Regions from separate parts of the Homo sapiens genome. Here regions 1, 2, 4, 5 and 6 are each linked to region 3. Evidence: promoter capture Hi-C in 16 types of primary human blood cells and fetal thymus (Javierre and others, 2016). All regions are on one chromosome and are shown on one strand. The core of a region is centred on a gene start or on the middle of the fragment in contact, and the rest is flanking DNA. Distances in the headings are between cores, read along the strand shown. Region 1 overlaps YTHDC1 (YTH N6-methyladenosine RNA binding protein C1). Region 2 has its middle 29 kb from the start of YTHDC1. Region 3 holds the start of STAP1 (signal transducing adaptor family member 1). Region 4 has its middle 49 kb from the start of YTHDC1. Region 5 overlaps YTHDC1 (YTH N6-methyladenosine RNA binding protein C1). Region 6 has its middle 29 kb from the start of TMPRSS11F.

Region 1 (4,328 bases), core at 1,772-4,271, 760 kb after region 3:
GATGGAGTCTCCCTCTGTTGCCCAGGCTGGAGTGCAGTGGCGCAATCTCGGCTCACTGTAACCTCTGCCTCCTGGGTTGAAGCAATTCTCCTGCCTCAGCCTCCCCGAGTAGCTGGGAGTACAGGCACACGCCACCACACCCAGCTAATGTTTTTTGTATTTTTAGTAGAGACAAGGTTTCAGTTTCACCGTGTTGGCCAGGCTGGTCTCGAACTCTTCACCTCAGGTGATCTAGCCGCCTCAGCCTCCCAAAGTGCTGGGACTGCAGGTGTGAGCCACGGCGCCTGGCCAGTTTAAGTCTCTTTAATGAGTAACTGTAACAATCATATTCCGAGTAAGCACCTGAAATACTAGAACTGCAAATTAAGTTATGTAACTTATAAAAATAGAATAATACAAACCATTCCTTGCCAAGGTGGTGGTGGTCCCATGTTATGAAATTCCCTCACATAATCATTGTAGGACTAAAATAAAAGATGATAATGTCAATATAATTAAAAATTATCACAGAACTGCAAAATAAATCAGAGCCTGATTTTATCCACATTAAATAGATAAAATGAAATGCTTACCCCATTTAAAAACACATCTCGGCGAACTCCTGAAAATCGTCTGTTGGGAATAAGATTTGTGAAACTAAATTCAGGTAATTCATAAACTAGTTCCAAGAATGTAATTCAAAACTAGGCAAGAGTGAACCCGACTTACCTGTCCACTTCCTGGTATCGTGGATCCTTTAAATACCCTGTTCAAACATCAAGCATTTTAGTAAATCAAATTTATATTTTTCTTTTATGGCATTATAATTAAACCTTCCTTACCACTCGTTTCAATTCTTTCCATGAAATATGTACTTTAAGTGATGCTACTACTGTATTATCCCATTTTCAAATTTTCTTCTCAGATTACATGATAATCTAGGAAATAACTAATGATATCATAGAATTGTAAACTGCTAGAGAAGCTTTCAGATAGGTATCTTCTATGTTCACACTCCAAATCTTGCTAATCAGAAAATTTCTTCCTTCTGCTTCACAGGGAAGGTAAGGGCAGAGGAACTATCTTGAGCACACTATGACAGGACTTCCTTAAAACAAATGTTTACTTTCCACCTTGGGTATATGTAGGTCTTACCAAGAAAACCACAGATAAGCTTTTTAAAATGTAAACTTAAGGGGGAGGGGGAAAAAATTGCAAAAGTTGCAAAAATGAAGATGTATACACTGAAAATGAAAAATCGATGGTGGTTAGAAAAATATTCTTTCCCCTGCTTCTTTTAATAAGAACCCAACAAATTAAAATGTAAAAACATTTGAGTAGTCATGTTACTGGGGAAAAACTATTTTCACTTTCTACAACAGGACAACCTATTTTGGAAGAATGAGGCTAATCAAGCCACTTGTTACATAATAGTGCTATAATGATCACTAACATCAATCTCCTAACTGCCTAAGTTTCACAAGTGTATCACTGACTCTCTTCAAATACATGATATCCCTTCTTGAATATAGTTTGCTCTCTTAAATTTCAGTAAGGGATAGATTAATTGAAAAGCTACATTTAGATTACATACCGAGTATTTCCCATTCCTCTCCAAAGACATAAAGATTTTTATTTAAAAAAAGTAGCATTGTATGTATATGTATCACATGAAACACTAACTACCATAGGGAACAAAAAGCCTGATAGAATATAAGGTTATTGCTTTTCATAACTACTTTTAACCTTAAACACATGTGCAGATAAGTTTCCATTTTTGCAAAATTAGCAATTTCAGGTAATTCATAGGGTATGATGAGTTACACTGGAATAGACTAGACAACCTTAACGAAGTTAAGGGAAGAATTACACTAATGAGAACTACTAAAATTTCTCAAGATTTAAGTAGTCAGGTCCTGAATTTTTTTCACTTTTAAAACTGCAGGATTGTGAGGGTTGTTTTTAATTTTTTAATTTTTTTCCAATAATTTGAAATCAAATATCTGCAGGATTATAAAATATTAACCTGGTCTCTGGTGAAACTCAGGGGGATAGTCAATCCTTGGTTTCTTTCTGCTGTTATGAATATCATAATCTTCTGGTCGACGCCTACACAAATTAGACACATTAGAAATTAAACCAAAAACTGCTGGGAGAACAAAGAGTAAAGCAAGAGTTTCTGACAGAGATAAGTACAAAGAATAACCCATTATTTAACATCTTAATTTTTTTAGTGAGCAAATTATTTTAAAATTCCTACATTTTGATTCTCAAATTAATTCCTATAAACCAAACTTTAAATGTACTGCTGGAAGTAGATATTCTCTGCCAACTCATGCTATGATGAGAAAATTGCAGACTAGTCCAATCAAAACATGTAAGTCACATTTTAGTAGTCTAAACAAAAGTAAACAAAGTCATTCTCAAACTAAATATCAGTTTTAACAATTAAAACACTTTCCCAAATAAAGTCTCCATTCAGATGAAAAATAAAAACTAGAAAAACCTATCATCATTGTACAATATGTAACTCTAAAATCTGCATATTTAAAACTTATAAATGTCATTTTAGGTTAAGTCTAAACAAAATTAAGAATTTATTTTTCCTCTGCTTTGCACAAATTATGAATTTTACATGATCATACAGAAAATTTGATACTTATTAAAAGCAACTTTACAGGAAAGTTTTTAAAATCTTAATAGTTAAAAAACTATTTCTTAATAATCCTTAGTAACATTTAGTTTTTCTTTCTACATCTAATGACATTTAAGAATTAAGGGAATTTTTTTTTTCCAGAGACAATGCCTTGTAATAAAATAGGCTTTTATAAATTGGCAAGTAATGGGTCAGAATTTTAACAGAGTTCATAAAACTAATTCAAAATATATTCTTTAGAAGGTGAAACTTTACTGACTACAGAGGGCTGTTCTTTACTGTCTTCCATAAATCGGGTTAACTTAACACATCATTAAATACACTTCAATTTACTTAGCAGCTAATAAAGAGTTAAACAAAAAAAAAGTCCAAAATATTTAGAAAATAAATATATCTTTTTAACCTTAATGTCAAATAAAAACTTGATAACAACCTAGCATTCACTAGTTTTCAGCTATTTGTCTGAGTACCAACTGCTTTCATTAACTTTTTCAACACAGTTCACTCAAACTGCAAAGTTAAGTGCAATAATCCCAAGCCCCCCAACAGAATAAAAACAGTTGCATCTACAATAAATAATACTAAGAAAATTAAAAGCTGGTTTAAAAAATAAACATACCGCTTTCCTGTAGTTTGGGGAGTGCATTTACGACCGGTATAAAACATGATAGTAACAGTTCATATAGTAGTCCAACTACTGACTTTAAGCTGTAAGCCACATACATAAATGGAGGCCCTGGCAGGCTTGAGAGAAGGTGTAGTGGTGTAATAAGTATAGTTTGCAGTCCATTGCAAAACTGAGGTAAAAACTTCACTTGTATATATTGTATTGCACTGGAAACCTCTTAGCTTAAAACTTCAAAAGACATCTTGGTGCTCAGTCCTTTTAGGCCAAAAATAAGGGGCTCTGCCAGGTTTCCTCCTACCTACTCGACAGTGTCCTTTTTAAGCTCAAAGAAATGGGGACTCTTGTTGGATTATCTGTACCTACCACAGGATGTCTCCACCAAAAGGAAATTTAATCAAAGGTTTCATCCCATCAACCATACATCCAATAGTCTTTAGCAGAATATTTTAGATTTAGCTGTATGCAAATCTACACAGGGGAAGGTGTTGGGTAGAAGGGCTTAAATCAGTCCTTTGCAAAGACTTCTCCAATTCTGTAACAAGTTAAACCCCCTTTTTCTGGAAAATGCTGTTTAGTTCATAAAGTAGTGATCAATAACCATGGCGATCCTCTAAAAAACACTTTTAAGTCCACAGGTACTGCCAGCATCTGGAAAAGTTGTAAACAGACACAGCAACAGCCCTTCTTTTTGGTTTGTTGCCGGGTCTCCCAGGGCCACTTGATCCCCTTTGGAAAGAACCTATTGTTTTCAGAAGCTCAGCAAGATGTGTGAATTCACTGGGTACATGTTAGAGAATATTTGGCAATAGGGTTAACACATCACGGTGATAAAATCTGAAACAGTCCCAATAATGCTCCTCTTGAATATCAAAATAACTTAAAATATTTTATCCTCTAAATGAGGCGTCATCTTCTGAAAAAATATTAGTGATCCTTTATAAAAGTCCCATATCTGATAAGGCTTATCCAGAGACATACCTGAAAGAAAAGGCTTTTTAAAAAGTATTAACAATTTTTGCAAATAAAGACTTCCTCCTCTTCCTCCTTTCTAGCCTGTTCTTAGCA
Region 2 (4,677 bases), core at 1,105-3,604, 820 kb after region 3:
ACAATAACTTTGTAATCTGAGGATACTAATCAGGGTATAATAGTACACTTAATTAGTATGATTAGCTGATAGTCTCAAGTTAGGACGACAGTCATTGAGCCCATATCAGGTAGTTAACAGTGAGCATCTATCTGTTCTAATATGTTCAGCATTCTGTTAGGATTAGTTGGTGTCCATGCTGTCCTTGTTATTAAATCATCTGAATATCATCCAAGACCATAAGGGACTGTATGTTCACAGGAAAAAAATAACAAAATCACAAAATGTGAAGAATGTATGTATTATGAAAAGAAGGTAGGCAAACAGATATCTTTAAAAGAGGAAGCTAAAAAAATAAAAATAAAAGAGGAAGCCAAATGAATGGATCAGATAGAAAAAAATGTTCAAAAGTGTAATAATTGTTTTAAAAGGACTAAAAATATTTTTAGAGACCCAAAGGAGGAAATTAGAAACATGAATCAGAAAAATCAGTTATGAAGGACCAACTGGAGATATTCAGTATGAAAAACCTAATAACTGAAATAACTCAGTAAGTATGGTATTAGATAAACCTTATAGATGTTTTTTAGATACTGCTTTTCAGAGTGAACACACTTGAAATACAAATTAGTGAGCTGAAAGATCAGGTCAATCAACTCTTCTAGAAGGACTCAGGAAGGACAAAGCAGTGCTAAAAAACTGAGAGAAAAGGTAAGATACAGTGACAGAATTTTGCAGGACGAAAGAGTGATATTAGTACAGTCTTTCTTCAGTATCTTCAAGGATTGGTTCAAGGACCCACTGCCTTCATAGTAAAATCCAGGAATGCTCAATTCCCTTATATAAAATGGCCTGTTTGCTCATAATCTACATACATCCTCCTGTATACATTCAATTATCTCTATATTACATATGATACCTAATACAATAGGAATGCTATGTAAATAGTTGTTATGCTGCTTTGGTTTTTATTTGTATTTTTTTAATTGTTAATTTGGTTTTTTCTTGAATATTTTCGGTCCCAGGTTGTTTGAATCTGTAAATGCAGAACCTGAAGATACATAGGGCTGAGTGTATTTGATAGAAAGAGGACAGAGAAATTGTTGAAATAAGAGAAATTTGAAGCTAGGATGCTATATCCAATTAATTCAATGTAAGGCTGAAATAAGTTATTGTAAGGTACACAAGGCCTCAGAAGGCTGACAAAAATTCTGTTTGAAAACACTTTGGGAGGATGTGCTCAAGTAAGACAAGGAATCAATCCAGAAGTTAACCAAGAGATGTGAAAAGTGTGGAACAAGTGAAGCTTTGTAACGTGTTTAGATGAAAAACTGCCAGAGGCATCTTTAATATAAACAGCTTCAGGAAGAGAGACACACTGTATTGCTTTCTTTATCCCAGAGATTTTGGAGCGTATACATAGGTGTCATGCATGTCGTATGTATATGTGCGTATTTGTTGGAGGAACAAAGCCCAACCCCCACCCCCGACAAAATCCCATGAGTTTATTTACACATTGTACATGAGAATTTGCGCTATTTCCTATCTTCAGACGTGATATTTAAAATATATAACAATTAGTACAACATAGGGCACTGACCAATCAGAACAGACACCAGCCAAACTGCTAGAGCAGCTTCCTGGATGCTGTGCCCTTCATGTCCGGATTATGAGTACACCTCTGGTGGGCTGGGGCAGAGGCATGGGGCAGGGTCTCAAAGTGGCTTCTATTTACCATGTATATAGGATTGTTTCAATATTTTAACAACTTGTATGGTCATGTATACTGACTGAATAGCAACTCTGCTATGAGACATAAGACATGTTTGATGACTTCATGCAATTTTCTGAAACATGCTCTTTTTTTTTTTAAAATAAACCTTGGGCAGATGTTATGTTAAGACAGTCTCTGTAGTAAAATAATTTGCCATATTGGAGAGGCTTATCATCTTTACAATGAAAGTCAGAAAATATAAGTAAAACATATTAAGTTGTACTAAAGCAGAGAGAATAATCAAATATAATCTTACTCAAGATATTTTCATGACAACTCAGCTTGCAAGATGTTTTCCTAGGCTTACTGGGTCATAAATATTCGGTATCATTTTTTTTCCTATATTTTAAAGAAAAGGAATTTGGAACATGTAAACTATAAATCTAAGTTTTAAAAAATCTAAACAACAGTTTCCTCTCATTGCAGACCTCATTCAAATTGCAGGCTGGAGCCATGCCCAATATGCCTCTTCAGAGCCACAACTACCCACAGGTAGGTGGGCACTTGGTGAGTGAGGATAAAAAGTTTGTTGTTATAAGTCATTGAGTTGTGCAGTTGTTTGTTACACAGCAAATGACATTCCTTTTTTACTTATTCATCATTCATTCAACGTATTCTAAACATATAACTATGAACTATAAAAACTCAAAACTGGCTTTTCTTTTAAAAGATTGACTAGACAAATTTATGTTAAAACTAATCAGGAAAGGAATGGAGATGCAAATAAACAACAGCACCTATGAAGTTTGCATTCTACTATTGAAACAGAAAATACACAAATAAACTGGGAATCCCAAATGGTTCATAAGCAAACGAAGAGTGACTTACCCTTACTCTGTAATCAGAGAACTGCAAATTAAAACAATTGGAAAGTCTGACAATATCATGCAGTGATGAGGATGTTGGGAAATAAGAGACCTCCCATTCAACTTAAGGGAAAGTAAGCTGTTGCAACCATTCCAGGGAGCAACCTGAAAGTACTTGGTAAATTAACTATCTTTATACTTTCTCAATGATGTAGCAATTACACTTCTAGGTCTCTTGCACATGTCCCTAGGAATATTTTTCACAGCAATGTTTGTGGTAGTAAGAATGGAGAAAGTCTAGATGTCCATTGACAGAGGAATGGGAAATAAAATAAGGGATAGACACATAATAAAGTTATATTCAGCACTCAGAAATAATGTTCTAGATTAATATTTATCTGGATGGCTCTTAAAATATCATGACAAATTGGGGAATAAACAATATGAGATTTATAAAAGAATAACTTTCAAGGATATTACATGCATATGCCCAGAAACACCAAATTCATCTTTAAAGATACACATATATCTAAATGAATATAGCAATGATATACTGGTAGGGTATAAATTAAATATGTAAGGGTGGGGTGAGGTGAGAATGGTGGATGCATGGGAAAAAGGTAGTAAAAAGTAGAAAGGTAAAATTTAAAAAGGGGTATTGCACAGACGCTGAAAATGTGCAATGAAATGAAGGGTGTGATTAATTCAATTTTGTGACTTGATAGTCTAAAAATAACTATATGTAGTAGAATCTGAAATATGAGGAATAGGGAACTTTAAGGGAGTATATGGAAGTCAACGCCGTCTAAGCATGTGCACACTGAATTCTCACACTTTCGATGATGTCCTGCTATTATATCTTTTCTAAGCTTAGAGGAAGATAAATACCACAGTAGTTATATTTTAATTCTAGTTTTATTTAGGTAAATGATAATAATGAGATAAGCCACAAAGTTCGAATTGACATATCTATTAGTATTAGTATACATAAATGTAGAAAATATATTTCAAAAGAAAAAAGAACGTACTATGATCATCAAAAACCTCACCTTTCCACATGATACATATTGTTGATATTTTGATATTTTTCCACCATGGAATTTATTTTGCAATTACCTTGTTAATCAGTATAATGTATAATGTGAGGATTAAATTGCATCTATGGATCTTGATGTGTTATCTTTAGAACTTATTTAGATTGAAGCTTTCATTTTATCTTTTTCAAACTACTATATTAATGATCTTGAATGAAGATTATTATAGGAGTTCAGTGCCTCGCAAAATTTTCTTGTACTTACCCTGTGCTTCATACTCTTATTGTCTTGCCTCCTTTGAATAATCACAAAAGAAAAAGAAGGCAAAGGACTATATAGCACAACCTATTAGAGGAAATGGCTGAAATAGTATTCTCTTAATGTTTAATGTGACTATTAAGAGGGTATTATGCTGGCATGTAAAACAGTTAATTGTATTCAGTGTGTTTTAACATCACTGATTAATTGATGGCATAGTGAATGTTCATCTTGGAGAAAATACCACCTTTGTATCTCAGGGGATCTAAAGAATGTCTTTTGCTGCTGAATAAAGTGCTTCAAAAAGTTCAAAGGGAGAAATGTGTATTTTTTTTTATGGTAAGGAAGAATAGATTTTACCACTTGGGAAAGTAACAGCTTATGAAATCACGCAGTGATGACTGTAATTCAGCTGTCGTCTGTTTCTTTCACCTTCTAACCAGTGAAAAAAGTTAGGTTACTTATTTCTTTGACTAAGTAAATTGAAAAGGAATAAATTCAGAAAGATTATCTAAGGAAACTGGTTATTAGAGCAAAATGGTTTGTATTCACTCTGTAAATGAATGCTCCTGCTGCTTTTCTCTTCATTTTAATCATAATATTTCTTTTTTCCAGTTGTTTCATGTGAATTTTATTTTATTGTTTGTTTTTGTTTTTGAGATGGAGTCTCGCTCTGTTGCCCAGGATGGAGTGCAGTGGTGCCATGTCGGCTCACTGCAATCTCCTCCTCCCGGGTTCAAGCAATTCTCCTGCTTCAGCCTCCCCAGTAGCTGGAACTACAGGCATGAGGCACCACGACTGGCTAATTTTTTTGTATTTTTAGTAG
Region 3 (4,851 bases), core at 1,202-3,701:
TAAGCAAGATTTTTGCATTTTGTAGTCTTTTTCAGGGAGATATAATTTGATTCTTGGTATATTAAGAATGAATTTGACGAACAAATCAGCAGACCAAAGTAACTTACTGTGTCTGATTAGCTGTTTTTAAATTGTTGCTTATATTTTAAAGGCAAAAAAAAAACTAAGTGCTTATTTAACAACAACAAAAAATCCCCTTTACATTTTTTTAGAGGTATTATTTTCTCTCACCTATGAAACTTTCTGACCATAAAGTCAGTGCGTAATCACTGATGATTCCCAGCATTCTTTCTTTATCCTTGCTTCTTTTCATTTTTCAATTCTTAATCCCTCCTTTCACTTCCCCCCTGTATTACAACAACTAACAGCTGCCAAGAAAGTGGATTAGGTCATATATTCAATCAGGAGGTTTTCCTGTTATTCAAGTCACTTTCTTAGTATACCGAAACTAAAAAATAGTTATGGTTTTTGCCTCAAAAAATTCAGTTGGACTTATATTTTATTATTTGAAGGTTGGGTAGCAAGAAGCAGGTCTAAACTTACAAAAGCAAAGCAGTCATTTTGGATCTTCAACTCCCTATTTCTGTCTTGAGCTGTTTTCATTTTGATAATACATCTGAACACTCTTCTCTAACTTACTGATAATCAGTCCGTATTGTTCTACCTCACTTTGTAGACAATTTGTCATCCCATATCTACAGCTGCAGGATCAGTGGGACCCATACTGGTGGAGAAAACCATGCAGTCTCTCCATTAGGAAAGGAGAATCAGACTGAAGACTCCTGACTTGCTTTGATTTCTAATAATAGGCTGGTCTCACTGGGCCCAGGCTGTTCTAAATCTAGAGTAGTTCTGAAATACTGAGTGTGAAATAGGCAATGGTAGAAATTCTTAGGACCCCTGTAAGACAAATCAAAATTCCTTCTAGTATTCTTTTCTCCCATCATTTCCTGCACTGTGCTACGCCAAATCCAATCTCTTAAGGACCATTTCCTACATGCAACCATTGAGTGCACTTTGGCCCCAGTATAGCTTTATAAATCTCACTAGATAACTGTGGGAAGTCCATCCATGAATCATAGTATCAATGGTCTGCAGCTCAGAAAGCACAAAAGAACAAAATAAAAGTTTGAAAACTTACAGCTTTCTCTGCCAGATATTTTTTTGCCAAATATCTTAGACTCCTTTGTGTTGCTGTAACAGAATGCCACAGACTGGTAATTTATAATGAACAGAAATGTATTTCGCTCATGGTTCTGGAGTCTGGAAGTCAAAGAACATGGCCAGCATCTGATGAGGACCTTCATGCAGCATCATTCCATGGCAGAAGATAGAAGAGCAAGAGAGGATGATAGCATGTGAGAAAGTGCCAAACTTGATTTTATAAAAAACCCACTTCCAGGCCAGGTGCAATGGCTCACACATGTAATCCCAGCACTTTGGGAGGCCACAGCAGGAGAATCGCTTGAGCCCAAGAGTTTGAGACCAACCTGGGCAACATAGGGAGATACTGTCTATACAAAAAATGAAAAAGTTAGCTAGGAGTGGTGGCGCGTGCCTTGTAGTCCCAGCTACTTAGGAGGCTGATGTGTGAGGATTGTTTGAGCCTGAGAGGTCAAGGCTGCAGTGAGCTGTGATTGCACCAGTGTATTCCAGCCTGGGCAACAGAGCAAGACCCTGCCTCTGAAAAAAGAGAAAGAAACCCACTCCCACAGCATTAATTAATTCATTCATTCATGAGGGCAGAGGCCTCATGACTTAATCACCTTCTAAAAGTCCCATTTCTAAACACTGTTGCATTGGGGATTAAGTTTCTAACACATAAGTTTTGGAGGACACATTCAAAACATAGCACTAAATATTCATTGGGAACTCATGTACTTGGAATATCTACTGGCAAAAAAAAAAAAAAAAGAAAGAAAGAAAAAAGAAAAAAATTCCATATTCCGTGTTCCCATAATTGTGGTTTATATTTAGTGAAGCATCAAATGAGCATGAGATACAACTATTTTTTTTATTTACACAAAACTTGACCCTAAAATATTTAACCAACAGAAGTAGTACTAATAAAATTATTCTATGAAGTAATTTTTAATGAAGCTGAGTTTATTCAAGTCATGTCTTCTGCAAATAAAAATGGACACCAATAAACAAAAACAAAGATAGAAAGAATAACTGTGTTCTTGATATCTCCCCTAAAGTTCACAATCTCTACACCTGTTTCTTTCATCTTCTGGTGATGTTAATCTTCTGTTTATTTTGCGCTTTAAATCTAAGCACATGTGGATTACCCAGAGATTGCCCTCTGAAAGTCAGTCTACACCTGTTCTTTCTTACCTCACAAAAAGTAATGGAAAAAAAAGTGTGTGTGTGTGTGTGTGCGTCTGTGTGTGTGTGTGTCCTGTTGGTGGTAGTGTTGGTGGTTAAAAAGCAATTTGGGACTTCCTCTTTGAACAGTTGCCTTTTCCTCTCACAGAAGGAAGATTTCATTTTGTTTGAGACGAGAAACCAAACCACACACCAAAGAGAGGGGTATGATGGCTAAGAAGCCCCCAAAACCAGCCCCTCGCAGGATCTTCCAGGAAAGGTTAAAGATTACTGCTCTACCTTTGTACTTTGAAGGTTTTTTATTAATCAAGCGGTCAGGATACCGGGTGAGTCTATAGATGATAATGTTAAACCTAAGACTTCTGTTTTAATTTAATATTTATTTCATGGTGATGTGATGTGTTAAGACCTCCTTGTTTCTGTTGAAATTAAATCATCTTCTCTTCTTTGAGCTCAGAAAAATGATTCCAATTTTTCATAATTTAAATACAATGTCTGGCTTAAACCTGTATGTATACACATATATAATATGTATAATAACAGAGGTTGTAATATTAAGGCACTAATATAAAAAAGTCAATAAGCTAAATTTCCAAAGAATTTATTTAAATATCACAAAAGATTTTGGCTTGGGAGATAAAATGTTTCTTGTATTTTCTCCACAATTTATTGCTATGCTTCAATGATGACATGTACCATTAAGATAAAATGATATCATGATTAAAATTAAACCTGCTCCTGTTCTGAGTCATTTGAAGTTTATAATGATCAAATTATTAAAAATGGCTTTTGTAAAAATTGTTAAAATGACAAAGTTCATACTGTTTAACATTATATATAGTTATGTGTTCTAAAATACTATTCAAGATAGTGACTTTTAATTTTTGGGGTACTACTGTGGGTATTAAGTACACTAAGCTACATAAATACCTTTGCTCTAAGAAAATCCATGAAGCATTCTGTATTTTTAAATGTAATAATTAAAACTTATAGTTAGTTAAAATCATTACTTTTAAAACAGTAATTATGGATGACTTGAAATTAATTAGAGAAATAAGCCCAAAATTGCCTGTTATTAAATAAAAAAATCATTAAGTTAGGTCAAATTTTATGAAATTGTATACTGACTAAAACTAGAAAAATTTTAAGGTTTTCAGAAATTCCATCAGAAATGTTTAATGATGCTAAAATATATTTTCTGAGGATTTATGAATACTTGTGGAAAAATTATATATATGAAAAATCTATAATAGCATATTCACATTTCTTACATATATAATCAGATCATTTACTATTTGAGAGTAAAGACATGGTAATTTGTATTCTGTTATGGATGTTAAACATGCATAAATAATTACCTTTCAGTTATATTAGAATTTTTTAGATTGATCCTATATGCTTTTAATGTAAATTCAATCTTGTCACCACAGGTAAGCCACATAGTCACACTTTGCCAGGAAAGGGAAGTTGAGAAAAAAAAATTCTAATTAGTAATTTAAATCAGGTTGTTCATTGAATGTTTTCCAAGGTATTTATAATAACTGTTTATGATAGCAGTTTTTTTTAAATGCTTAAAGAAGACATGTCATTGGTATGGTTAGCAGAAAGAATAAGAATTTTAGAGTGTCCTTTATCTGATGGTTTTGCCACTTATAGCTTGTGATCTTGTGCAAGTTACTCAATCTCCTTGAGACTGTTTCAACTATAAGATAGAGAGTATACTACTTGCTACTTGCCTCCTAAGGTACATTCTAGGATTCAGTAGGTGTTCAATCAATTTATTCACTCAACATTTATTGTGTGCCTCCTATGCACCAAGCATCACTCATTTCTGGAGAATATGGAAAAAAACACAAAGATTTTATTTTCAAGAGGCTTAATATAGTAGGAATGATGTCTTCCTTACCAAATTTCTACTCTTTACCTTCTCTTAGAAAGCATTCTTTGAAGCAGAATGAATACCTATAGGCATAAATATTTCCAATGAAATTAACTTGTGTTTCTATTTGAATTTATAGTAAAGTATCTTTGTGTGTGTGGGTGTGTGTCTGTGTGTGTGTGTGTGTGTGTGACAGTGTCTCCTCTGTTGCCCAAGCTGGAGTGCAATGGTGCAATCACTAGTCATGCAGCCTTGACATCCCCGGCTCCGGTGATTCTCCTGCCTCAGCCTCCTGAGTAGCTGGGACTACAAGCGCATACCACACCCGGCTAACGTTTGTATTGTTTATAGAGACAGGGTTTCATCACGTTGTTCAGGTTGGTCTCAAACTCCTGGGCTCAAGCAACCTGCCCACCTTGGCCTCCCAATGTGCTAGAATTACAGGCATGGGCCTCTGAGTTAGACCACTAAGTACCTTTTACTTGTATGTCAGGGAGAAGAGAGCAAGAGGATGACAATAATACCTACTTATGTGGTGGTTTCAGGGATTAAAGGGATAGCATATGTAAAACACCTGGCTCACACTAAAGGTTAGATTCATTCTCTTACCCTTTCATCACTTATCATACTCTTATTCAGGTACT
Region 4 (4,737 bases), core at 649-3,148, 740 kb after region 3:
AGTGTTGCCAAAACTTAGATAGTTTTAGGTGTGCAGCTTTATTTCTATTTGGGCTTTTTTCGGTTCCAAAGGAACATTAGAATTTTTTTTCTAATTCTGTAAAAAATGTCATTGGTGCTTTGATAGGAATAGCATTGAATCTGTAAATTGCTTTGGGTAATATGACCATTTTAACAATATTATTTTTTCCTATCCATGAGCATAGAATGTTTTTCCATTTGTTTGTGACACATCTAATTGGAAACACATCTTGTTTCCTGAACTGAAACACTTAATATTTTATTAATGACAATACTGCCCCAAATGATATATAAATTCAATGCAATCCTTATAAAAACCACAGCTGACTTCATAGCATAAATTGACAAGATGATCCTAAAATTTATATTAGATATTTAAAGGACCTAAAAATAGCAAAACGCTCTTAAAAAGAACAAAGTTGGGGGACTTGTACTTACTGATTTTGAAGCCAACTGTAAATCTACAGTAATAAAGAAAATGTGGCATAGGCATACAGATAGATGTATAGATTGATCGAATAGGTTTTAGAATCCTGAAATATACCATATGTTAATGGTCAACTGATATTTGACAAGAGTGCCAAAGCAGTTCAATAGGGAAAGAGCCTAGTAAACAAATGTTGTTTGTGTTGACAATTAATAACACGTGTTGTCAAGGATGTGGAGGAATTGGAATCCTCATACATTGCTAATGAGACTGGAAAATGGTATGGCCACTTTGGAAAACAGTCTAGTAATTCTTCGAAAGTTAAACATAAAGCTAATATGTAACCCAGCAATTCCATCTCTAGGTATATACCCAAGAGAAATGAAAACATGTCTACACAAAACTTGTACATGAACATTAATAAATAACATTATTCATGATAGCCAAAAACTGGAAAAAACTCAAATGTCCATTAACTGATGAATAATAAACAAAATGTAGTATATCCATAGTATATAACATTATTTGGAAATAAACATGAATGAAATCTTGATACTTTAACATGAATGAGTCTTTAAAATATTATGAAAAGTGAAAGCCAACCACAAAAGACCACGTATTGTATGATTTCATTAGTATGAAATATCGAGAAAAGGAAAACCCATAGAGAGATAGTACATTAGTGTGTGGTTGCCTAGAACTCTGGATATGCAGAAATTGCATAGGGTGGAGGTTGACAGCTAATGGTAAAGTACTTCTTTTTGGGAGATGAACCTGTTCTAAAATTATTTTCTGATTTTACAAGTCTGTTAATATACAATGAGACATTCAATTGTACACTGATATGGTTTGACTGTGTCCCCACCCAAATCTCACCTTGAGTTGTAATAATCCTCACATTTCAAGGGTGGTGCCAGGTGGAGATAATTGAATCATGTGGGTCGTTTCCTCCAGTTTCCTCCATACTGTTCTTGTGGTAGTGAATAAGAAACATGAGATCTGATGGTTTTATAAATGGGAGTTCCCCTGCACAAGCTCTCTGTCTTGCCTGTCACCACGGTTGTGAGGCCTCCCCAGCCATGTGGAACTGTGAGTCAATTAAACCTCTTTCCTTTGTAAACTACCCAGTCTTGGATATGTCTTTACTAGCAGCATGGGAACAGACTAATATATACACATTAGATTGGTGAATTGCATAGCATGTGAATTATACGTCAAAAAGTCATGACTAAAGTGTTTTTATAAAAATAACTCTAAAAAATGCTGATTCATCCATATAATTATTTTATCTCTAGTTCTGTGTCAAGGAGACTGAAGACAAAAGAGCCTCTCTATTGCCACTACTTTTGGCAGTATACTAAAATACATCACATAAATGCGACGACTTGTTCATGCAAAATCATTGATCTTAGCTAGATGAAAGCACTTAAAAACATAAAAGAGACATTAAATACATTTGTGTAAACACAGGGTCATCTACCTTTTGTTTTTCTATTTGCCATTGACATGTTCAGACTACTTATATAATGTATTTACTTCGAGGTGTAAGAGTTATATTTTAACTTCCGGATTGATTTATCATTGCATAAAAACAAAACGTAAGAATGGCAGAGGGAACAACAATTTAAAAAGAAGCATTGTATTTTATCAAGATGGCTATGAAATGGACTTCAGTCCTTCTGTTGATACAGCTGAGCTATTACTCTAGCTCTGGGAGTTGTGGAAATGTGCCGCTGTGGCCCATGGAATATAGTCCTTGGATGAATATAAAGACAATCCTGGATAAACTTATGCAGATAAGTCATGAGGTGACTGTTCTAACATTGTCAGCTTCCATTCTTGTTGATCCCAACATAACATCTGTTACTAAATTTGAGGTTTATTCTATATCTGTAATTAAAGATGATTTTGCAGGGTTTTTTTTCACACAACAGATTACTAAATGGATACATGATCTTCCAAAACATATATTTTGAACATATTTTTCATTAATGCAAGAATATTCTTTGGGAATATTCTGGTTATACTGAGAAGTTCTTTAAAGATGTAGTTTTGAACAAGAAACTTATGACAAACCTACAAGAATCAAGGTCTGATGTCGTTCATGCAAATGCCATTGGTCCCTTTGGAGAGCTGCTGGCTGAGCTATTAAAAATATCCTTTGTGTACAGTCTCCACTTCTCTCCTGGCTACACATTTGAGAAATACAGTGGAGGATTTCTACTTCCACCTTCCTATGGAGCTGTTATTCTGTCAGAATTAAGTGGTTCGATGACATTCATGGAGACAGTAAGAAATATTATATATGTGTTTTATTTTGACTTTTGGTTCCAAACATTTGATATGAAGAAGTGAGACCAGTTTTACAGTGAAGTTCTAGGTAAGTCATGTTTTTAATTGGTGGTTATTAAGTCCTAACTTTCCCTGTGCCTTTAGAGGTGAGTTTGCATGAGTATAAAATCAGAGGAGTGTGTTTTTTGTAAATGAAATGATGAAGTGAAAATATAAGATGATCAATCAATCTCACAAATACTATGGAAAGCCTGACATTAGTAAGTTAGAACTCTGGGACCATCAATTGTACAGGATGCTCCAGTAAGTCATAATCCTGCAAATTGAACCACTGAGGATTTCTCTAAGCAATTACATATCCATCTTACAATGCTTTTATTTTGTCCTTAAAATAGTCATTAGAAATTTCAATAAATGTCTTGATGAGAGCAGACATGTAGATTACATATACATTTCTACAACTATTTATGTAGCATTAGGACATTGTTTCCCTTATGTAGCTTAGTTTCCTAATTTAAAAAATTAAAACATTTTTCCATATTACTATTACTATGAGGATTTCTTCATATTTGAGTGAATAGTGTCTGTCCCAGATGCAAAAAGCTATATAATTTGAGGTCTCTCAGACTTCCACATTCCTTCAACAACTGCTTACAAGTCATATATTTTAAGGCCTAAAATCTTGTTGAAGAGTGAACATGTAATTATTAGTTTATATTTTTAAAACTATATCTTTCCATTAAAGAAAATATGAATCTAAATAAGGCTGAGCACAAATCACTATTTTAATAATTTGTAAAAATTTTCCAGCTGTTACTTTCAATATCAATATTATTAATAAACTAAAATTATTAGTCACCTATTATGAATCAAATACAGTAGTAGCTACTAGAAACCCCAAAACCTTACAATTCATTTGGAGAATCAAAGATTAAGGAAATAAATTGCTTCCTAAATTGTAGAAACTAGACTGAATACTCTTGAAAAACATGGCTATGGCTATGGTAGAATTAAGTGATGGTGGATTTCAAAGAGTTTTTAAATTTATAATGGTTACTTTTGTATTTTAGAGAGAAAACAAATCTATGTTTAATTCTACAGTGACTCGTTTTAATAATCATTCATGATTGTGTATATACCAATGTGACATTAGAGTCTACCCACTTTACTTACATATGTATGAACAACATCTATAAAATATATAAATTATGTATAAATATGCACATTTATATTTGCTTTAGCAAGTCATAAAAAATTTTGGCTACATTATTTCAAATAATTTTAGAAAATTACCTGGCATATTCACATGACAATTTTATTTCTTTTGCCTTTCCCCCCCCTTCAGGAAAATGCACTACAATTATCTGAGATAATGGGAAAAGCTGAAATGTGGCTCATTCGAAACTACTGGTATTTGGAATTTCCTCGCCCACTCTTACCTAATTTTGAATTTGTTGTAAGACTCTACTGCAAACCTGTCAACCCCCTGCCTAAGGTAAACCTATTCCTAGTTGTTTTATTCTTTTTGTTTTGCATTTTCAGGGGGAATGACTGTATTCTTCGTTCAGAGTGTTTGTCTCATGGTAAGACAGATATGACAAGTGAGGAAAGTGACCTGCCAATTAGAAACTGATATATTTCTTTTCTGTACCATCACAAGTATGTGAATTTCATTACCATTACAGAATAACCTGAGATACCTGGGAGACTTTGAGAGTATAGTCAGTTAACTTAAGGTGTTATTATTCAACACATAAGAATCAATTATTCATTTAAAGAATATAGTGACTAAAATATACCAGAAGTGCCAGATTTGCAAAGAAATGAAGTAGACATAACTTCTGCCCCCTATACATCTTATCTTCTGTTGTGAAAGATAAAATATAAGCAAGTAATAAAAATTGGGTGAAAAGTGTCATCTTAAGGAAAGACCACAGTGCTAACGAAGCATTTAGAGATTACAGACAGTATCTCCACGTCATTAACAATTAAGGTAAG
Region 5 (4,358 bases), core at 297-2,796, 780 kb after region 3:
TTTGTAGTATTCCATTTATTTCACCAAAGACTGACAATAATATATACATCAGGAAGGGGGGATAGGCCTCATTTCTTTAAAAGTCTTCTGAGAGATTTCTTCTCCAGAGTTAATCTAAAAGAAAACATAGCTTTCAACTATGGGAATAAAACCATATATTTGAGAAGTTTCATATATTAGAAAAAAACAGATTATCCCTATTCATATGGATACCAGTTTATTATGTACATTTAGTGTTAACTGCCTCAAGGAACAAGCACAAAAAAGCACAGTCATTTTTTTTAAGAAATTGAATCTCCTCTATTTATACTGTTATTTCAACAAAAATAATAGAACTCTTACATACCCTTTTTCTCATTTTTATCTTGTTCACTCTCTGGATTATACAGTTCATCATCTTGTTCTGGTACTTCAGTTAAAATATCATCCAGAACATTAAGTTCTCCATCTGCAAATAAAATTAAAAATTAATAGGGAAAAATCACTATCATTGAACATGTATTTTTGAGTACTTACTAAGTGTGAGGCCACAAGCGCCTAGGAGCTTTTACTTTTATATAAAAAGCTTTACTTTTATTTCAGAATCAAGACACAAGATTAATTTCTATAAAACTAATACAGGGTAAAGAATTGGCCAGTCGTGGTGGCTCATGCCTGCAATCCCAGCACTTTGGGAGGCTGAGGCAGGCCAATCACGTGACGCCAGGAGTTTGAGACCAGCCTGGCCAACATGGCAAAACCCTGCTCTGCTAAAAATACAAAAATTAGCAGGGCATGGTGGCACATGCCTTTAACCCCAGCTACTCAGAAGGCTCAGGGACAAGAATCACTTGAACCTGGGAAGCAGAGGTTGCAGTAAGCCAAGATTGTGCCACTGCATTCCAGCCTGGGCGATAAGAGTGAGTTTCTCAAAATACACACACACACACAAACAGAAGTCTGGGCTATCTGGTCTACAAAGCCAGGAGTATACATCTCAGAAGGCATGAAAAGATATACTGAGGCATAAAAAGAAAATGCAAGAATGTCTCTATTTTTACCTCATTCTTTAATTTCTAATATTTCTGAGGGCTTTAAAATGTGTACAATAAATTAGTATACAAATACGTATGTACAACTTATAAATACACATTTACCAAAAATGTGCACTCTCCACAATTACAAAGGGAAAACGACTTTACAGTGGAGAAATGTTTCACAGGCCAAATTAACCAGATAATCAAAGTTAACATCACCAGTAATGAGACAAATCAACATCATGGACCTCCTGTAACAATGCTCTGAGAATAGAACAATGCTTTTGTAATGTTCTATGCAAAATGGAAAAGCTGAACCTACATGAGGAAAAAAATCAGACAAACCCAAATTAAAGGGCATCCAAATATGTCACTGTCATGAAACAAAGAGTAAGAACTATTTCATATCAAAGCAGACCTAGAGAGGCATGATAACTGAACACAGCCCACAATATTGGACATAATTGGAAAAACTGGTGAAATCTGAATAAAGTTTGTAAATCAGAGTAAGTAGCAATGTTATTTTTCTAATTTTGACTGTACTATGGTTAAGTCAAAGTCCTTATAACACATATTTAAGTATTTAGGGACAAAGATATATTATGTCTACAACTTACAAATGGTTCAGGAAAAAAGTGTGCACACATGCACGTACACACACAGACACACAGAATGAGACAAATGTGACAAAATGCTAACATCTGCAGAATGTGTTTGGAGAGTAAAAGAAAATTCTTCACACTGCACTTGTAGCTATTATGCTTATCTGAAATTATGTCAAACTGCAAGTTAAATGAAAAAATTATCAATGTGCTATATAATAAAAAAAACATTTAGAGCCTGCTGGTGTGGACTGTAAAAGCACAAAACTTGTTCAGAGAAGGGAACTATGACTTTATTCAATGATCATGAAAGCATAAAACTCAGTTTTGTCCCCACTTCTACCTTGTCCAACAAGATAAACCTTAGAAATACACACAAATACCATTTTAAATTTTAAAATGTACTAATGCTAATAGTAAATGTTTAAACATTAACTATTCCAATATCAAAAACATCTTTCCAAATTTAAGGTGTGCCAAAGAGGAAGTATAAAGCCATGAAAACTGATGAGACAGAACAATTACATTTGTGGCTTCAGGAAAAAAACAAAGCCCACATGAATTACAGAAAGGTCTATTAATTAACCTGGGGGCTATAAACAGGTTAAATGGGATTCAAATTTTCCCCAAAGTGGGAAAGAAATCTGTGACTGAAGAGAATAGTTAATACAAACGATAAGGTTACATAGGAAATGGAAAAGATATCATTTTCCTTTACATTTGGAAACAGACACAATCTAAAGATATCTGAAAATTACTATGTCTGGAATAGCAAAATTGATCATTTTGGGTGGTACCAATGCTGATATGTACTTTCTATCATTTTTCTAAAATGAAAACAGGCTATATGGGTTTTTATTTTTGTTTACTTTTAAAAAATCTTATTTAAAATCAAGATATGTCAAACAAAAAAGCTTCTCTCATCATCTAGATTCATGTTTTTGCTAAGAAAAATTTCTTCAAGATCTGAATGGTGGCAAACACCATTTTCGGACTCTAAATTATAAAAAAAATAGTCTGATAGAAGTAAATCAATGTTTTACAGATGTTTAATAAGTACTGGGTCAAAGCTCACTAATCAGTAAAAAAGTAGATCCAACAGGTCTTCACAGAATCAAATACATTTGTAGAAGACAAAAAGAAAAAATTTCAAGACTATCACAATGAAACAGGCAAATAATGCTATACAAATCTTTTCATAAAATCACTAGATCTTATTCAGAAATATCATCCCCGAACCCTGAACATTTATATTATATACTTTAGACATGCTAAATTTAATACAGAATGAAATAATTTTGCAGAATGTTAATTTAAATAAATTTAAGTTTCAAACACACTTAAAGCCTGGTTTTCCTATAAAAAGGGGTATTACTGTTTTAAAGTTTTAACGAATTCAAATTCAGATACTGGTTGTAGTTTTAGAAAGCACCTACAACCTTTTTCAAGACAACAAATATTAACCAATGCTTACTACTTTTTAAAAATACTTTGTCACTTTTAAAATTTTATCACTTTTAAAATATATCATATATACAAATCATATAAAATAGAGCATGTTTAATCATTCATTACTTTGCAGATAAAGAAAGAGAAGCTCAAATGTTCCAGTTGACCAAATACACTTGTCTAGTAACAAATGGATATTAGTATGAAGTTCCGGCTTTAGAAATTGACAGTTAAATCAGATGGGGAACAATAAAAGCAACTTTAACCAAAGTATAAAGAACACAAATGCAAAATATTAAAAGGGCATATATACTAGAACATAAATTTCAAATTAGTGCACCAGAAAGCTCTATATCTTTAACATTACAACATTTAAAATCTACTGAAATATTCAAAATCAACTATAACACCCTCACTTAAATGATGTACACACTTTTATCCGTATTATAGTCCATAACATCAATAAACTGTGTGGTTTTACCACAAACTGGCAAACTAAAACCTACAGGATAAACATGGCCCATTGCCTATTTAGAATGGCCTGCAAGAATGGTTTTTACGTTTTTAAGGCGCTTATTAACAAGAAAAAAAAAAAAGCAAAGAATATGTCAGAGAACACTTACAGCCCACAAAGTCTATTTGGCCCTTTACAAAGAGTTTTGCCAACCCCTGATATAATACAAATGACCAAATTTTAAGTACTTTTCTCCATCACTGAAACTCCTTATATATACACTGGAATATAATATACAAGGGGAAAAGTCTTGGAGGTTAAGGAAATGCAGGTTATAGCTTGCATTTAGGTATCAGGAAATTCCCAGTCTTTCTGAGTTCAAGATTCTTCACCTCTGATAAGAGGCACTTAAAAAAGGTCAGTTTTGGGGAAAGGAAAAGCAGGACATTTGAATCTTCTATGAGTTTTTCAACCTGTAAGAAGACTCTCCTTCCTTATAACTATTGGACTTTAATAAAACCTGCCTGCCCCAACCCTCTTGCTAATGACTGGGCTATGTGATATATATAAAATCTGGTCCAGAACACAAAACAAAATTCCTTCTTCAACAAAACAGGTATGGTATATGCATACATGTTCTGATTATCTACTGCTGTATAAGATGATCACCCTAAAACTTGACTTAAAATGGTAACACCTTTCATTATGGCTCATGGTTCCAGGGCTCAACCGGGGTCTCCCATGTGGCTGCAGTCAAATGGGGCTGGGGCTGGGGCTGAAATCATCTGAAGGCTTGTTCATTGACAAGTCTCGTTGATGTCTAGGCTGGGAAGATTC
Region 6 (4,358 bases), core at 882-3,381, 600 kb after region 3:
GTTTGGCTTATGTCTAGGTTGTCTATCCTGTTCCCCTGGTCTATTTGTCTGTTTTTGTACCAGAACAAATGCTGTTTTGGTTACTGTAGTATTACAGTATACTTTAAAGTCCGGTAGTGTGATGCCTCCAGTTTTGTTCTTTTTGCTTAGTATTGCTTTGGCGATTTGGGCACTTTTTTGGTTCCATATAAATTTTAGAATCATTTTTTTCTAATTGTGTGAGGAATGTCATTGGTTGGTTGATTGTGATATGGCCCCAATGACTGGAGGAACACCAGGGTCCTTTATCTCGTGCTGGTTTGAATAAAACAATACAGACACACGTGGAGTGGTTTTAAGGGGCATATAATAGGCAAGAAAGAAGGAAGAGGCTCCCAGGTACAGAGACAGAGGGAGGGGGCCTCCAACCCAAAAGAGGAAACCCCAAGTCTGGCTGAAAACAGCCAGTTATATGAGAAGGCAATGTCTGATTTGCATAGGACCCAGGGGATTGGTTTGACCAGGTATGTCATTCAAGTAGCCCGCAAAAAAAACTGGCCCCCTACCCTGGCCTTTTAGTATGCAAGTGCAGGTGCCATGATGTTCTACATAAGTGGGCATATGTGGGGGCGGCCATGTTGCCAGGCACATGTGGGGACCTGAAGAATTGGTGGGAATCGCCATGTTTGGGTGGACCCAGTTTCTAACAGCTGGCATTTGCATATGGAAGCTTGCTGGCCCAGCCAGGGCTTTTCTGCTATATAAGAAAAGTTTCTGGAACTGCTTTAAAAAAAACAAAACAAAACAAAAAAACTTCCCAAGGACTCCTTTTCCTATCTTCCTAAAATAATTTCTTAATAACTCCTATAACAACTGGAATAACATTAAATCTGTAAATTGCTTTGAGCAGTATGGCCATTTTAACAATATTGATTCCTCCTATCCATGAGCATGGAATGTTTTTTATTGTTTGTGTTGTCTCTGACTTTTTTCAGCCATGTTTTGTAATTCCCATTGCAGAGATCCTTTACCTCCTTGATAAGCTGTATTCTTTGGTATTTTACACTTTTTGTGGCCATTGTAAATGAAATTACATTTGTGATTTGGCTCTGAGCTTGGATGTTATTGGTGTATAGAAATGCCAACTTTTCTATGTTGATTTTGTATCCTGAAACTTTACTGAAGTCATTTTTCACTTCTAGAAGCCTTCTGGCAGAGACTATAGGATTTTCTAGGTACAGAATCATACTTTCTGCAAACAATAGATAGTTTGACTTCCTATTTGGATGCCTTTTATTTCCTTCTCTTCCCTAATTGCTCTGCATAGGACTTTCAGTACTATGTTGAATAGGAATGGCAAGAGTGAATTTACCTGTCTTATTCAAATTCTCAAGAGAAATGCTTCCAGTTCTTGCCCATTCAATATGATGTTGGCTGTTGGTTTGTCATAGATGGCTCTTACTTTGAAGTACCTTTGATGCCTAATTTGTTGAGGATTTTTAACAGGAAGGGATATTGAATTTTGTCAGAGACTTTTTCTGTGTCTATTGGATGATCATGTCATTTTATTGTTAATTCTGTTTATGTAGTGAATGACATTTATTGATTTGCTTATGTTTAACCAACCTTGCATCCCAGAAATAAAGCCCATCTCAATATAGTGAATTAACTTTTTTATGTGTTGCTGGATTCAGTTTGCTGGTATTTTGTTGATGATTTTTGCTGCTATGTTCTCAGAGATATTGGTCTAAAGTTATCATTTTTCACTGTATCTCTGCCAGGCTTTGGTGTCAGAATAATACTGACTTTGTAGAATGAGTTAGGGAGGAGTCCCTCCTCCTAGATTTTTGAAATAATTTCAGTAGGAATGAGACCAGTTCTTTATACATCTGGTAGAATTTGGCTATAAATCCATCTGGTCCAGGACTTTTTTTAGTTGGTAGGCTTTTTATTACCAAGTCCATTTCAGAATTTGTTACTGGTGTGCTCAAGATTTTAATTTCTTCCTGGTTCAGTCTTCAGAGGCTTGTGTTTCTAGGAATGTATCCATTTCTTCTAGGTTTTCTAGTTTGTGTGCACAGAGGTGTTCACCATAGTCTCTCAGGATTTTTTGTATTTCTGCGGAGTTGGTTGTCATATCACCTTTGTCATTTCTAATTGTGTTTATTTGGATCTTCTTTTTTTTTTTTTTTACTAGTATAGCTAGCAGTATATCAATCTTGTTTAATCTTTCGAACAACAAACTTTTGGCTTCATTTGTCTTTTGTATGGATTTTTGCATCCCAGTTTCATTCCATTCAGCTCTGATTTCAGTTATTTCTTTTCTTCTGATTGCTTTGGGGTTGGTTTGCTCTTGTTTTTCTAGTTCCTCTAGGTGTGACATTAGAATGTTAATTTGAGATTTTACTAACTTGTTGATGTAGGCATTCAGCACTATAAACTTTCATCTTAAAACTGCTTTATCTGTGTGATTTTGGTATATTGTGTCTCTGTTTTCATTAGGTTCAAATAATTTTTTTTATTTCTGCCCAAATTTCATTCTTTACTCTAAAGTCATTTAAGAGCACATTGTTTAACTTCCATTCCATTGTATGGCTTTGATAGATCTTCTTGGCATAATTTCTAATTTTTTGCCCTACAATGAGAGTGTGGTAGGTATGATTTCTATTTATGTTTAATTTGTTGAGATGAGCTTTATGGCCAAGCATGTAGTTGATCTTAGACTATGTGCCATGTGCAGATGAGAAAAATGCATATTCTGTTATCACTGGGTGGAGTATTCCTTAGATATTTATGAGGTCTAATCGGTCAAGTGTCAAGTTTAAGACCATGATATCTGCTAGTTCTCAGCCTCAGTGATTAATCTAATCACTAGCAGAGGAGAGTTGAAGGCCCCCAGTATTATTATGTGGTTGTCTAAATCTCTTCATAGATATCTAAAAACTTGCTTTATGAATCCACATGCTCCAATGTTGGGTATATACATATTTAAAATAGTTAAGTCTTCTTGCTATATTCAGCCATTATCATCATGTAACACCCTTTTTTGTCCGTTTTGATCATTGTTAGTTTAAAGTCTCTTTGAACTGATACAAGCATAACTACTTCTGCTGTTTTTAGTTTTCCATTTGCCTGAATAGATCTTTCTCCAGCTCTTTGTTTTGAGCTTATGGATGTCATTACTCTTAAGATGGCTCTATTGAAGTCAGTTGGGTCTTAATTCTTAATCTCACTTCCCACTCTATGCCTTTTAAGTGGGGCACTTAGCCTATTTACATTCAGGGTCAATATTTCATTGTACTATTAGCTGATTGTTATGTAGATTTGGTTGTATAGCTGCTTTATAATGTCTATGGGGTATGTGCTTAAGTGTGTTTTTGTGGTGGCAGGTATCATTCTTGAATTTCCATGTTTAGTGCTCCCTATAGGCACTTTTGTAAGACGGACCTTACGTATCTGGTAAGAAATTCACTAAGCCTTTGTCTGAAAAGGATTTCATTTCTCCTTCGCTTCTGAAGTTTAGTTCAGCAGGGTATGAAATTCTTAGTTGGAATTTCTTTTATTAAAGGATAATAAAGCTTGGCCCCCAATCTCTTCTGGCTTGTATGGTTTCTGCTGAAAGGTCTACTGTTAAGTCCAATAACATTCCCTTTTCAAGTGACCTACTCCTTCTCTCTAGCTGCCTTTAATATTTTTTTCTTTCATGTTGACCTTGAAGAATATAATGACTGTGTGTCATGGGGATGTTCATCTTGCATTAGTATCTCACAGGAGTTCTCTGAATTTCCTGAATTTGCATGTTGACCTCCCTAGTGAGATTGGGAAAATTTTCGTGGACTATATGCTCAAATATGTTTTCTAAGTTGCTTGCTCTCTCTCTCCTCTTTCTGGCATGTCAACAATTCGTGGGTTTGGTCTCTTTACAAAAATCCCTTTTTTTTTTCAGAGGTTTTGTTCAGTTCTAAAAAATCTTTTTTCTTTATTTTTGTCTCCCCATGTTGCTTTAAAGTGGTGATTTTTAAGTTCTGAGATCTTATCTCAGCTTGGTCTATTCTGTTGTTAATGATTCCAATTGTATTCTGAAATTCCTGTAGTGAATTTTTCACTTCCAGAAGTTCAGTTGGGTTCTTTCTTAAAATTGTTACGCTGTCTTTCAACTCTTGGATCATTTTAATGGTTTTCTTTGGATTGTGTTTCAACCTTCTCTTGTATCTCAATGAGCTTCCTTGCCATCCTGATTCTGAATTCTATGTCTAACATCTCAACCATTTCAATCTGATTAGGATGCATTGCTAGGGAGCTACTGTGATCATTTGGAGATAAGAAGACCTTCTGGATTTTAGAGGTACCAGAGTTTTTGTGCTGTTTCTTTCTCATGG

Evidence for each region. The method cuts DNA at HindIII sites, captures the fragments that hold promoters and counts their contacts. A CHiCAGO score of 5 or more calls a contact.
Region 1: a contact is called between a fragment that was not itself captured here and the fragment with the promoter of STAP1 in region 3, in 3 of 17 cell types (total B cells, fetal thymus and naive B cells). The highest score is 10.7, in total B cells.
Region 2: a fragment that was not itself captured here is called in contact with the fragment with the promoter of STAP1 in region 3 in 2 of 17 cell types (fetal thymus and naive CD8 T cells); the score reaches 6.8 in fetal thymus.
Region 4: a contact is called between a fragment that was not itself captured here and the fragment with the promoter of STAP1 in region 3, in 1 of 17 cell types (neutrophils). The highest score is 5.1, in neutrophils.
Region 5: a contact is called between a fragment that was not itself captured here and the fragment with the promoter of STAP1 in region 3, in 5 of 17 cell types (total B cells, naive CD8 T cells, total CD8 T cells and 2 more). The highest score is 9.2, in total B cells.
Region 6: a contact is called between a fragment that was not itself captured here and the fragment with the promoter of STAP1 in region 3, in 1 of 17 cell types (naive B cells). The highest score is 6.1, in naive B cells.

Annotation. Positions count from the first base shown.
Region 1 is chr4:68,318,118-68,322,445 of GRCh38, forward strand. It overlaps YTHDC1 (YTH N6-methyladenosine RNA binding protein C1), which reads right to left. Exons shown (of 17, transcript NM_001031732.4): 12 at 2,006-2,088; 13 at 709-745; 14 at 573-612; 15 at 402-464. Among named protein-coding and RNA genes, the nearest start is that of YTHDC1, 30 kb to the right of the region's middle. The HindIII fragment of the contact is 3,740 bases long and covers 1,152-4,328 here.
Region 2 is chr4:68,377,129-68,381,805 of GRCh38, forward strand. No RefSeq gene overlaps it. Among named protein-coding and RNA genes, the nearest start is that of YTHDC1, 29 kb to the left of the region's middle. The HindIII fragment of the contact is 2,143 bases long and covers 1,284-3,426 here.
Region 3 is chr4:67,556,276-67,561,126 of GRCh38, forward strand. STAP1 (signal transducing adaptor family member 1) reads left to right here and starts at 2,452. Exons shown (of 9, transcript NM_012108.4): 1 at 2,452-2,654. The coding sequence starts at 2,535. The HindIII fragment of the contact is 12,125 bases long and covers 1-4,851 here.
Region 4 is chr4:68,298,226-68,302,962 of GRCh38, forward strand. It overlaps the pseudogene LOC100422188. Among named protein-coding and RNA genes, the nearest start is that of YTHDC1, 49 kb to the right of the region's middle. The HindIII fragment of the contact is 6,217 bases long and covers 1-4,737 here.
Region 5 is chr4:68,337,937-68,342,294 of GRCh38, forward strand. YTHDC1 (YTH N6-methyladenosine RNA binding protein C1) reads right to left here. Exons shown (of 17, transcript NM_001031732.4): 2 at 347-448. Among named protein-coding and RNA genes, the nearest start is that of YTHDC1, 10 kb to the right of the region's middle. The HindIII fragment of the contact is 1,967 bases long and covers 564-2,530 here.
Region 6 is chr4:68,156,729-68,161,086 of GRCh38, forward strand. No RefSeq gene overlaps it. Among named protein-coding and RNA genes, the nearest start is that of TMPRSS11F, 29 kb to the left of the region's middle. The HindIII fragment of the contact is 2,848 bases long and covers 708-3,555 here.